2 separate regions of the Homo sapiens genome follow, and region 1 is linked to region 2. The links are contacts of gene promoters, found by promoter capture Hi-C in blood cells and fetal thymus (Javierre and others, 2016). All regions are on one chromosome and are shown on one strand. Each heading gives the region's core, a stretch centred on a gene start or on the middle of the fragment in contact. The rest is flanking DNA. Distances are from core to core; before and after follow the strand shown.

Evidence for each region. The method cuts DNA at HindIII sites, captures the fragments that hold promoters and counts their contacts. A CHiCAGO score of 5 or more calls a contact.
Region 1: a contact is called between a fragment that was not itself captured here and the fragment with the promoter of CPNE9 in region 2, in 1 of 17 cell types (neutrophils). The highest score is 5.9, in neutrophils.

The regions. Positions count from the first base shown.
Region 1 is chr3:8,958,997-8,963,725 of GRCh38, reverse strand. It overlaps RAD18 (RAD18 E3 ubiquitin protein ligase), which reads left to right and starts at 254. Exons shown (of 13, transcript NM_020165.4): 1 at 254-391; 2 at 4,725-4,729. The coding sequence starts at 341. RefSeq lists an enhancer at 237-406. The HindIII fragment of the contact is 1,072 bases long and covers 715-1,786 here.
Region 2 is chr3:9,701,409-9,706,698 of GRCh38, reverse strand. It overlaps CPNE9 (copine family member 9), which reads right to left and starts at 2,866. Exons shown (of 21, transcript NM_153635.3): 1 at 2,635-2,866; 2 at 2,072-2,112; 3 at 1,904-1,950; 4 at 1,705-1,808; 5 at 1,199-1,235; 6 at 979-981; 7 at 636-712. The coding sequence starts at 2,702. MTMR14 (myotubularin related protein 14) reads right to left here. Exons shown (of 19, transcript NM_001077525.3): 19 at 4,306-4,909. The coding sequence ends at 4,726. RefSeq lists an enhancer at 2,317-3,227. The HindIII fragment of the contact is 18,760 bases long and covers 1-3,583 here.

The sequences.
Region 1 (4,729 bases), core at 1-2,500, 740 kb after region 2:
GGGCGACCCGGAGGGGGGTCATGAGCCTGGACCTTGACAGATCTGGTGAGGTCTGGATTTGGTTTGATTCCTGGCTATCTTTTCTTAATATTCAACTGGCTCTACGCTTTTTAACCATTCACTTTCTTCAAGGTAAGTGCGGCAGAAGCCTGGCGCATGCGCAGTACAAGCCCTTAAGCGGCGCCCCGCCCACATACTACTACAACTTCCGGCAGGCTCCGCGCCCGCCTCTGGCGCGTCGCGGGCTGCTGACGTAATGCGGTAGCGCGGGGAATTTCGAGTGGTGTTGGAGCGCCGGAGGCTAGTGGGTGGCTGACCCCCAGCATCCTCGGGAGCGACCATGGACTCCCTGGCCGAGTCTCGGTGGCCTCCGGGCCTGGCAGTCATGAAGGTGAGTGCTTCGGGGAGTTTGGGAGCTCCCGGGTGTCTGCGGGGGGAGGTCCCTCCCTTTGAGGAGGATGTCCTCGCCTTAAGGAGAAAGGATGAGGCGCGAGCGTCGCACTGGGCCCGGGTATCCGGCTCTGCCCTGCCACTAGCCGACCGCGTGGCTCTGGGTCTCAGTTTACTCCTCTGATAAGTGACAAGGACAAGCCTGGTGAGCTGAGGTTGGCAGTCTTATGGCACCAGCTATTCTGCGATCCAATCCCAACAATAACATGGAGAAAAACAGTTATTCCAAACAATGACATCGACAGCTGTTCTTTACTGAAAGCTTACTTTGTGTCAAGCACTAAACAGTGACACCGGACATGATTTTGGGTGGACACTTTATCAGATAACATGTATGTAATCACGTAGCCAAGCAGGTAGTCTCCTTTACAGGCTCTTTCATTTCTTCTGATTATTCTCAATAAACGTAGTGCTCGTTTGTTCTGACATACTGCCCCAACTCCTCTCTAACACACCTTCACTCTTCTCTAACAATTGCTCATGTCTCTTAAACAGAGATCAGGACTCAGGCTCAGCGCTGATCTTGCATTGCGTCTGATTATTTCACTTAAATAACATTTATTTTTGTGGCCACTTTCTGTTTTGGCAAGGCATACCAGTTTCCATTTACAGTAGTGGTGGGCCCTGGATTTGCTCAAGAGCAGATGCACTTTGCTGTGCTGGATAAAGATCAGTTGCTTGGTGTTTCTTCTTGCTCTGTGATTATTTCCGTTTCTCACAGTGGCTAAGATAGCCTTCTTCTCCCTCAGTTTTGTAGACTTGGGGATTATAATACCTGTCCCACTGACTCATAAATTTGACTTTAGAATTAAGTGAAGGCTAAAGTAAGTAGAAGGCCTTGTTCTTCCTGCTGTCATCAGTGACGTCTAGAGTGCTTGGGGACTTGAGATATCTGCATGATGAGAAGCTGACATTGTGAAATGATCCAGGAAAGCTGTAGTTTTGGAGTTGTGGGCTTGGCACCAGGATGCAGTGGAGAAGAGCACAGATTTGAGTTCCAGTGGTCCTGGGTGAAATCTCCTGTCTGCCTCTTGACTGTATGACCTTCGGTTAGTAACTTAACCTCTCTGAGCCTGAATTTCTTCAACTATAAATTAGAGACAAAAATAACAGTTCATAGGATTGATTAAATAAATTAGTTGATGTATGTGGGCACAGATTCTGCTGTGTATTCACTGTGCTTACTGCAGTGCCTGACACCAAGTGGGTGCTCAAATATTATTTGCTGCTTGATTGAAAGTATCTGGAATGTAGTAAGCATTCAATGAATATATTTTATTATTATTAGCACTGTGTTAAGTGCTTCTTTCCCCTTTTAATTTGTTGTCATGAAGCTTGACTTGGATAAGGAAAGTAAAAGAGCTCTGTAACCTGTAAAGCTCCTGCTTTGTAGATTTAAGCACACTTTACATATTCCCACAATTTCAGTGTTCTTTAGAGGCGGGTTCCATGTCTTCTCTGACTTTGGTATCTCACCACAGCACTGAATGTAGAGTTTGGCACCACAGAGCGTTCAGTGAGTGTTCAACCAGAGAGTTGATTGAGCCCGTATTTTTTTGCTCACATTGGAATCATGGAATCTTAAGGTTAGAAAACCAGCCCCTTTCAGTATTTTAATCTCCTTTATAACACATCTGCCAATTTCTCACCTAATTTTTGCTTGAACTCTTCCAGGCACAAAGAACTATCAGATCCCAGAAGCAGATCTGACTGAAGTTACTTCTTTTATTGAATAGAAGTCTGACTCAGAATCCATGGTTGCTAACTTAGGATTCACAGAAAGACTTTGGAGTCTCAAGTTATTTGTAAAATTTTTGCATGTATGTTTTTCTGAGCAGAGAGTCCATAGTTGTCATCCATTTTTCAAAGGGATCTGTAACCCCAAAAACTTAAGAGTATTTTTGTAATTATTACGTTTTTCCACCCATTTTCTACTTCTCCCTTTCACTTTCTCTCTCTCTAAACTAAAGAAATTTTGGGGAGTCTGCTGACCACTCTCTATTCAGGCATCATTTTTTGTTTAGTTGGTTGAGGCGCATGTGATATGCATGTTACTGTCTTGGAGTGACATGACAAGAAATTTGAACCAGAAATGGCTCATCTGATGTAGTGTCAACTTCCACAATTGTGCTCTGCAGATCTTTCAGAATCATTCCTCCACCAGAAGAGGATGGCATAGATAAGAAAGTGTGATATAATAGACTGGTTCTGGCTTCTGGGCCTGCCTCTGCTCTTAATTGATCTTGAACATAACCCTTTAGATTTTTGTGTCTGTGACAGCTTACCATCCACAATAATGGAAGATTTTGGCATTTTATTATTTCCCTGGTTTTACTTTAACAAAAATTTACTGTTTTTGGCATATTGTAAATGTAATATGTGTACACGGTAGAAAAAAATTAAAATTCAGAATAAGATAAAGGAGAAAAATAAAACCATCCATAATTCTACCACCCAGAGAACCAGTGTTTAACATTTTACCTTATTTTCCTTTGGTTTTTGTGCATTTAAAATTTGGGATCACTGTGGAGTCAACTTCTTGGGTTTGATCCAGCCAACTTAGGAACTCTGTAGACTTTATTTTTAAAATTGGGATACTGATGCTGTGGACTTCATAAGATTGCTATGAAGATTAAACTACAGAGTTGTTATTATTATGTATTATTGGCATAGGTTTGTTTTCTGATTTTTATTTTCCTAGGGCATTAATTATTCTTTGAAAGCATGTTTTTTAATGGCTGCATAATATTTCATCATATGGACCATTAGCGACATTAGTCCTTTTTTGTTTACATTTTTAAAATTCAGGTAATAGGTTCACATGGTTCAAAATACACATAAAATAAAAAGTAAAAGTCTCCTTCTTACCATGTTCCTGGCCCTGATCATTATTTATGACTTCTTGTTTATCTTCTCATTATTTACATTTACAATGAAAATAGAATGCATTCTTTTTTCCTTTTTTTCTTTTTTGAGATAGGGTCTCACTGTCGCCCAGACTGGAATGCAGTGGCAATCACGGCTCACTGCAGCCTTGAACTCCTGGGCTAAAGCAATCCTTCCGCCTCAGCCTCCTGAGTAGCTGGGACTACAGGCATGCGCCACTACTCCCAACGAATTTTTAAATTTTTTATAGACATGGATTTTTGTTATTTTGCCAGGCTGGTCTCAAACTCCTGGACTCAAGCAGTTCTCCTGCCTTGGCCTCCCAAAGTGCTAGGATTACAGAGCCACCATGCTAGGCCTATTAGAATACATTCTTACTCACCTCTTCCTTTTAAACAAACCGTAGCATAGTATATGTACTGTCTATACCTTATTTCCTTTTTTCACTTATCTTGGCAATCTTTTCATATCAGTATGATGGAGAGCTTCCTCTTTTTTTTTTTTTTTTTTGAGACAGTTTCACTCGGTCATGCAGGCTGGAGTATAGTGGTGCGATGTGGGCTCACTGCAACCTACGCCTCCTGGACTCAAGCGATCCTCCCGTCGAGAGCTTCCTCCTTTTAAAAAATATTTCTGTTGAATGGAATAATATTTTATTTTAAACAATTTGAAAGATTTTAGGTTGCCAGAGTAGTTCCGTTCCTGTTTGGATTGCATTCCAGGTTGGCACACATCTCTCTTTCCAAGTTGTCCACTTTCCCTTCCTCTGCTTTCACTGCCCCAGCTCTTTCCAGGCTTCCTCATTTGGCTGCATGTGTAGTACCATGCCGAAAGCACTGGACTGCCAGACGGGAGACAGGAATTTTGGTCTTGGCTTGACTGATGCCTACTATTGTGTGCCTGCTTTTGATACCAGTTTCCTCTTTTGACTAGACAGTTTCTGGAGTTTGGCTTTAACATTCTTTGATTTGATTCTTAACTTGTGTGGTGGCAATGGCCACCTTTCACCCAATAGTGACTATAGGCTAGGTGTTGGAGTCTGAAGAGGAGGAGGCTTGGAGTAAGAGCTGGAAGCGCATTAGAAGTGGAACAGAAGTACAGTAGCCCTTATGTGAAGGGATGACAATATGGCACAAGAATCGGTGTGCCATCATCTTTAGCTGTCTAAAGCAATTTGGGCAACCTGAGACTGAATGTATAAGAGTCATATGAGAGAAGTTTTTATTTATTTGTCAAGATCCCTTGCAGTTTATCTGGAGTTAGCTTTTGAATTTGTGTATTTGACAAAGAGTTTGATTTTTTTTTTAGGGGATAGAGAAAAAGTTTTGTGACAGGACTTCCAATTTTGATGTCTTTCTGATATGTATATATGCATATTTGCATTTCAGACAAT
Region 2 (5,290 bases), core at 1,617-4,116:
TCCGTTGATTCTGCTCTACTTCGTCTCTTTCCCCATAGCACTTAATATTGTCTAATCTATTATGTAATTTACTTATGTCTATTTTGTACTGTCCTCCCCACACAACTAGAGTATCAGCCCCCTGAGGACAAGAACCTTTGTTTTGTTCACCATTGCAAGCTAATCCCCTTTAACAGTGGCTGACATAGGGTATGTATACATAGTGTTTGTGGAATGAATGAAGCCCTGGTGCCTAGAACAGGGTGTGGGATATAAAACATGCTAATGCATATTTAGTGAGTGGATGTAATGGTAATTCCTGAGGATTTGACTTAGTCCGGGGGAGCTTCCCTGTGGAGAGGGGCTTGGAAGTGGACCTTAAAGGCTGAATCAGACTTAGAAAAAGAGTGAGGAGAGAGAGAGAGAAACAGAGAGAGAGAGAGAAAAAAAAAAAAGAAAAGAAAAGACATATCAGGCCTGATACTGACTCGGGCAGAGCACTGGAAATTGGACTTTTCTACGAGGGTGATGGGAGCCGGGGCAGGCTCCTGACCAGGGGCAACCCCAGCCTCCACTTCTATCAGTCAGCGGCATCCTTGGGAGGGAGAATTTGGAAGCCCCCACCCCACTCCCACACCCCTTCCTATTCAGCTTACGTGAGGGTTCGCTCTACTCGGCTGCCCTGGCCTCCAATCACCTCTCCCAGGGCCAGGAACGCTTGTCCCAGGAAATCCTATGCAGGACAAGGAGTCAGCAAGACCAGAAGCTCTTGAGTGCTGAGTCCCAGCCTAGCCCCAGTGATGCTCCTGCACAGGACCAGGGCAGTTCCCAGGCGAATGAGTGGTGCAAGAGCCACGGCCCTACATGGGCTTTAATGGAGGGGGTGTGAAAGAAGGGGTCTGCGAGCAATCTCTGCCTTGTAGTGGGTCATCAGTCCAAGCCTGTTCTCCACAATACCACCCCCACCCCCAACCTCTGCCCAGCCCCATTCAGCCTCACCTTCTGCAGGTCCCAGCAGTGGCAGCCAAGAAGGAAGAGGAACAGTGAGTAGGGGGCACAGGCAGGACACTCAGGCAGGAGGAGAGGGACCAGGAGGGTGGGTTGGGGGCCTGAAGAAGATGGGGTCTGGGTCGAGGGTTGGGAGGAGTTCTGAGAGTCGTTGAACACATCTAAGTGCCTCCTGTGCGCTCCGCCAACCCTCGAGGAAACGTTTGCTCACCGGTTTGGAGATGTTGGTTTTGGAGTCCACGTTGTACCTGGGAAAAGAGTGGAACCGGTGTGGGGTGGGGCTGGGTGGGGGAGAGGGTGGAAAGGGGTCGGGCACCGAGTCTTGGTGAAAATTTTGGGTGGAGGGATGGGCGGCCGTGGACCCGAATTCAGCTTTGGTCTCCTTTTGGGGAGGAGTCAGGGTGGGCTGAGTAGTCAGACGGTCAAGCCTGGGCCGAGGCCAAGTCAGGGGCTGCTGGGGGCAGGGTTGTGTGGAAGGGGTCGGGCCTGAGGTGGAGCTGCGATAGGAGCAGAGTTGTGGGCGGGGCCAGAGCGGGGGACGGAACTGGACCGCATCTCATAAAAGGGCAGGGCTCAGGCTAGAGGGGGCCATTCAGAATGGGAGGGAGGCCTGCGAGAAGAACCAGGCCGGAGGCGAGGCGGGGGTGGGGCCAGCCAGAATTCCGGGCGGATCCAGGTCGGGGGCGGGCCAAGCCAGAATTCCAGGCGGGGCCTCACACATCGAAGCGCAGATTTTGCTTTTCCTCAAAGAAATAGTCGAGGACGAATTTGCGCACGAAGTCTGGGTTCAGCGTGTTATCAATCACCTCGGTCCGTCCGAACTGGGTAGGGGGGTGGAGGGTCAGCGTGGGACGTGCAGACGGGCAGGGGAATTCCCGGGCGACGCCCTGGGCCGGGAGGGGGCTCTGGGACTCACCTCCCGCCACTCCTGGCTGGCCCGGCTCTGCGTGTAAAGCACCACCACTGCAGGTGGGGGCGGGGAGGGAAGGACGTCAGGTCGGCTCCCACCCCTGGCCCCGACTCCACCCGCCCCTGAGTCGCGCCCAGACCCCAAGTTCCCCCTCCCGGTCCTGGAGCCGCCTACTGGGGTCGGACTTGGAGAAGGTATCAAGGTCTAGCAGGTTCCTAGAGAAAAGCAACAGACAGACAGAGTGGATCATCCTGGAGTCCGCCCGCCTCGAGTCGGCTCTGAGCCGGGCACTGAGGAGAGGCATGGGGCCCGCATCGAACCTCTGTCCCCCATGGCTACCCCCAGCCGGGGTCCGCTCTGTCAGCACTCTGGACAGCACCGGAAATCGCTGTCCAGGAACCATGGCTCTGCGGACTGGACGCGAACGCACCCACACTGTCTCCAAGGGCCCAGGAAAGAGGGCTCGCCCCAGAACTTTGTCCTCCTGGGGCCGAGCTCCTACCGGATATCTGCGACCCACCCCCTGAACCCGCAGGCTGAGCCCTTTTTTCGGGGTGGGGCTGCCCAAGACCCCCCGCTTCTCGATCCCACCAGCTACTCGCCCTGTCATCAGCTGTGATTTTCCAGCCAATTTCGCCTCTCCCCGGGGGTCTAGCCCCTGCCCAGGCTGAGCCCCGCGGCTGGCTGGGGCTGGGGCAGTGCCAGTGCCTAAGCCCTCCCCAGCGCGGCCCGCTCACCGGCAGGACACGGTAATTTCAATCTTGGTGGCCGGGACGCTGCGCTCGGAGGCTCCGCCGAGAGACATGGCTGGTCGGGCGACCAGAGCCGCAGGAGGCTGCGAGACCAGGGCTGCTGGGGCTAGGGGCGACGGCAGCGGCGGGGCCGGCCCATGTGCCGCGGTGTCGGCGGCGGCGGCGGCTGCACTCGCTCCAGCCCTGCGTGCGCTCCAGCCGCTCGCGCCCTGACAGTGGCCGCCGGCGGCAGCGGCTCCAGATGGCAGCACAGCCCCGCCCGGCCCTGCGGGCGGCCCCCGCCCCATTGGAGCAGCCTGGAGCCAGCGGGGAACCTCACCCCGACTCCCAACTCCAACCCACACCTTGGTAGAGTCTGCCCTGCGCAAGTCTCTGGGGTGGAAACCCAAGCCCCCTAGAGTTGTCCATGATGCTGAAACATTTGGGGCACCTGGTGGGCACTGGAATTGTTGCCTCTTACTGAGCCACTCCCTTAGTGTTTCTGTCTTTTCCCACTCCCAGCCTGCCTAGGTCTCTGAATAGGAAAAGTACATCTCTTAGTAGCTGTGTGACCTTGGACAAGTTACTCAACATCTCTGTGGCTCAACCGTGAAAGGCCGTCAGAAAGGCCTTTAACAGCAGCTACTTTAGGTGCTGTAAAATTTTACTGAGATAACCCAAGGAAAACACTTAGCACACAGCAAGTGCTCAGTAAACATTCACTGGTATTTATGATTTGTCCTCTGGGTATTCACAATGATGACAGTAAATGGTGGCTGTTGAGCACCGTGCAAAGCTGTCTGCCCATGCCTTTAACCCTCACGACTTTCATGGCGTTACAGATGCGGACACACTCTCATGACGCAATCTACTGTAGGTTACACTGTAGAAGAGGGTGGTGGTCAGCCAGGCTCTCACCCACCACACATGCACACCAATTGCTATCTCCAAAGCTTCAGAAGCCAGTCCTTCCTCCATAGGCAGGGCTCAAGGTAGGGGATGCAGGTCACCCGTACCAGGACCCTGCTGCCTACAGAACTTGTTAAAGATGAAGATCCTGGTCAGGTACGGTGGCTCATGCCTGTAATCCCAGCACTTTAGGAGGCCAAGGCAGGCAGATCACTTGAGCTCAGGAGTTTGAGACTGGCCTGGCCAACATGGTGAAACCCCATCTCTACTAAATACAAAAATTAGCTGGGGATGGTGGCACGTTCACGTAGCTACTCAGGAGACTGAGGCAGGAGGATCGCTTGAACCCAGGAGGCAGGGGTTGCAGTGAGCCAAGATTGTGCCATTGCACTCCAGCTTGGGTAACAGTGAGACTCCATCTCAAAAAATCTGAAAAAAATGAAGATCCTCCAGCTCCTAATTCCCAGGCAACTTCCTTAGCAACCCTAAGGCTAAAGCTCAGGCAGCCCTGGGAATGTGCACAGCTCATCAGGCTCTCTAGGTGACTAGGACCTGCTTAGGCCCGAGAACCACTACTCTCAACAGTCTTGAGTGTTGTCCCCACTGCAGGGACTACCATGGCTCATGAGTGGAGAGGTATACCTGTCGCCAGTTCTCTTCCTGTTTCACCTGCCCTCCACATAAAAACCCCTTGTCCAGCACAAGGAAGGACAATGAGAACCTTCCTAGTAGCTCCACAAAGACAATAACCAAATGATGACACAAGAGTGGCTATTCAAAAAGACTTTGATTTTATTTTGTGATCTGTGTCAAACTGCCTCATTCTCAGTGCAGGTGATCCCTCCTCCCCAGAAACAAGAACTGACAGGTAGGGTCTTTGTGAAGTCATGGCTTCCACAAGGCCCCAGGGAAACCCCACACAGTTCTGAGAGTTGATGGGAATCCCAGCAAAGATGGGGTGGGTGGGAGACAGTGACAAGAAGGGGTGGTGGTCACCAGTCAAGAGGCTGGGGGTTGGAAAACCCTGTCTTTGGCCTTGCTCAGCTTTGGGGCTGCCATGTTCATGATGGAGATGGGGGACTGAAATTTCCCCTGACCTGGAAGTACCCCTTCGGCCAGGCATGGCTTTGATTCTCTGCTAAGGGCTCAGCTGAGAGAGGAGCAGGAAAATGTCATGGGCTGGCTTCTTCACAAGGCATTGCTGCTGATGCTCCGGAGTCCAACACCACGGGCAAATTGCTCCAGCAGGCCCCCGATGGCACCGGAAGGACTGGGGGCTACTGCCCGAAGCCCCACTGTGCTGCTGTACGCAGCCAAGAAGGCTGAGCGCACCTCCTGCAGCCGAGTCTCTCGATCACTCAGGGCTGCAAGCCTATGGGGAGGTCAAGAGAAAGAACAAAGACATTACCCTGGGACAGGACCCAGTATCCTCATCCTCCCTCCCTCCATACCACCTGTCCTTGTGCTTCTTCTGACTGTACAAGGCCAGTGTCTGTCCTACGGCCATGCTATCCTTGTGGTTCAGGCCCCAAATATCTGGCCCTGTTTTCCCTTAAACCATTCCTCTAAGCCCTCAGGCTACTGTTCCCACCTAGAGCAGGAGCTTTTACTGGGACACTAACCTTTTTTTTTTTTTTCTTGAGACAAGGTCTCACTCTATTGCCCAGGCTGGAATGCAGTGACACAATCAGCGCTCACTGTAGCCTCAAGCCATCCTCCCACCTCAGCCCCTCAAGTAGCTGGGACTACAGGC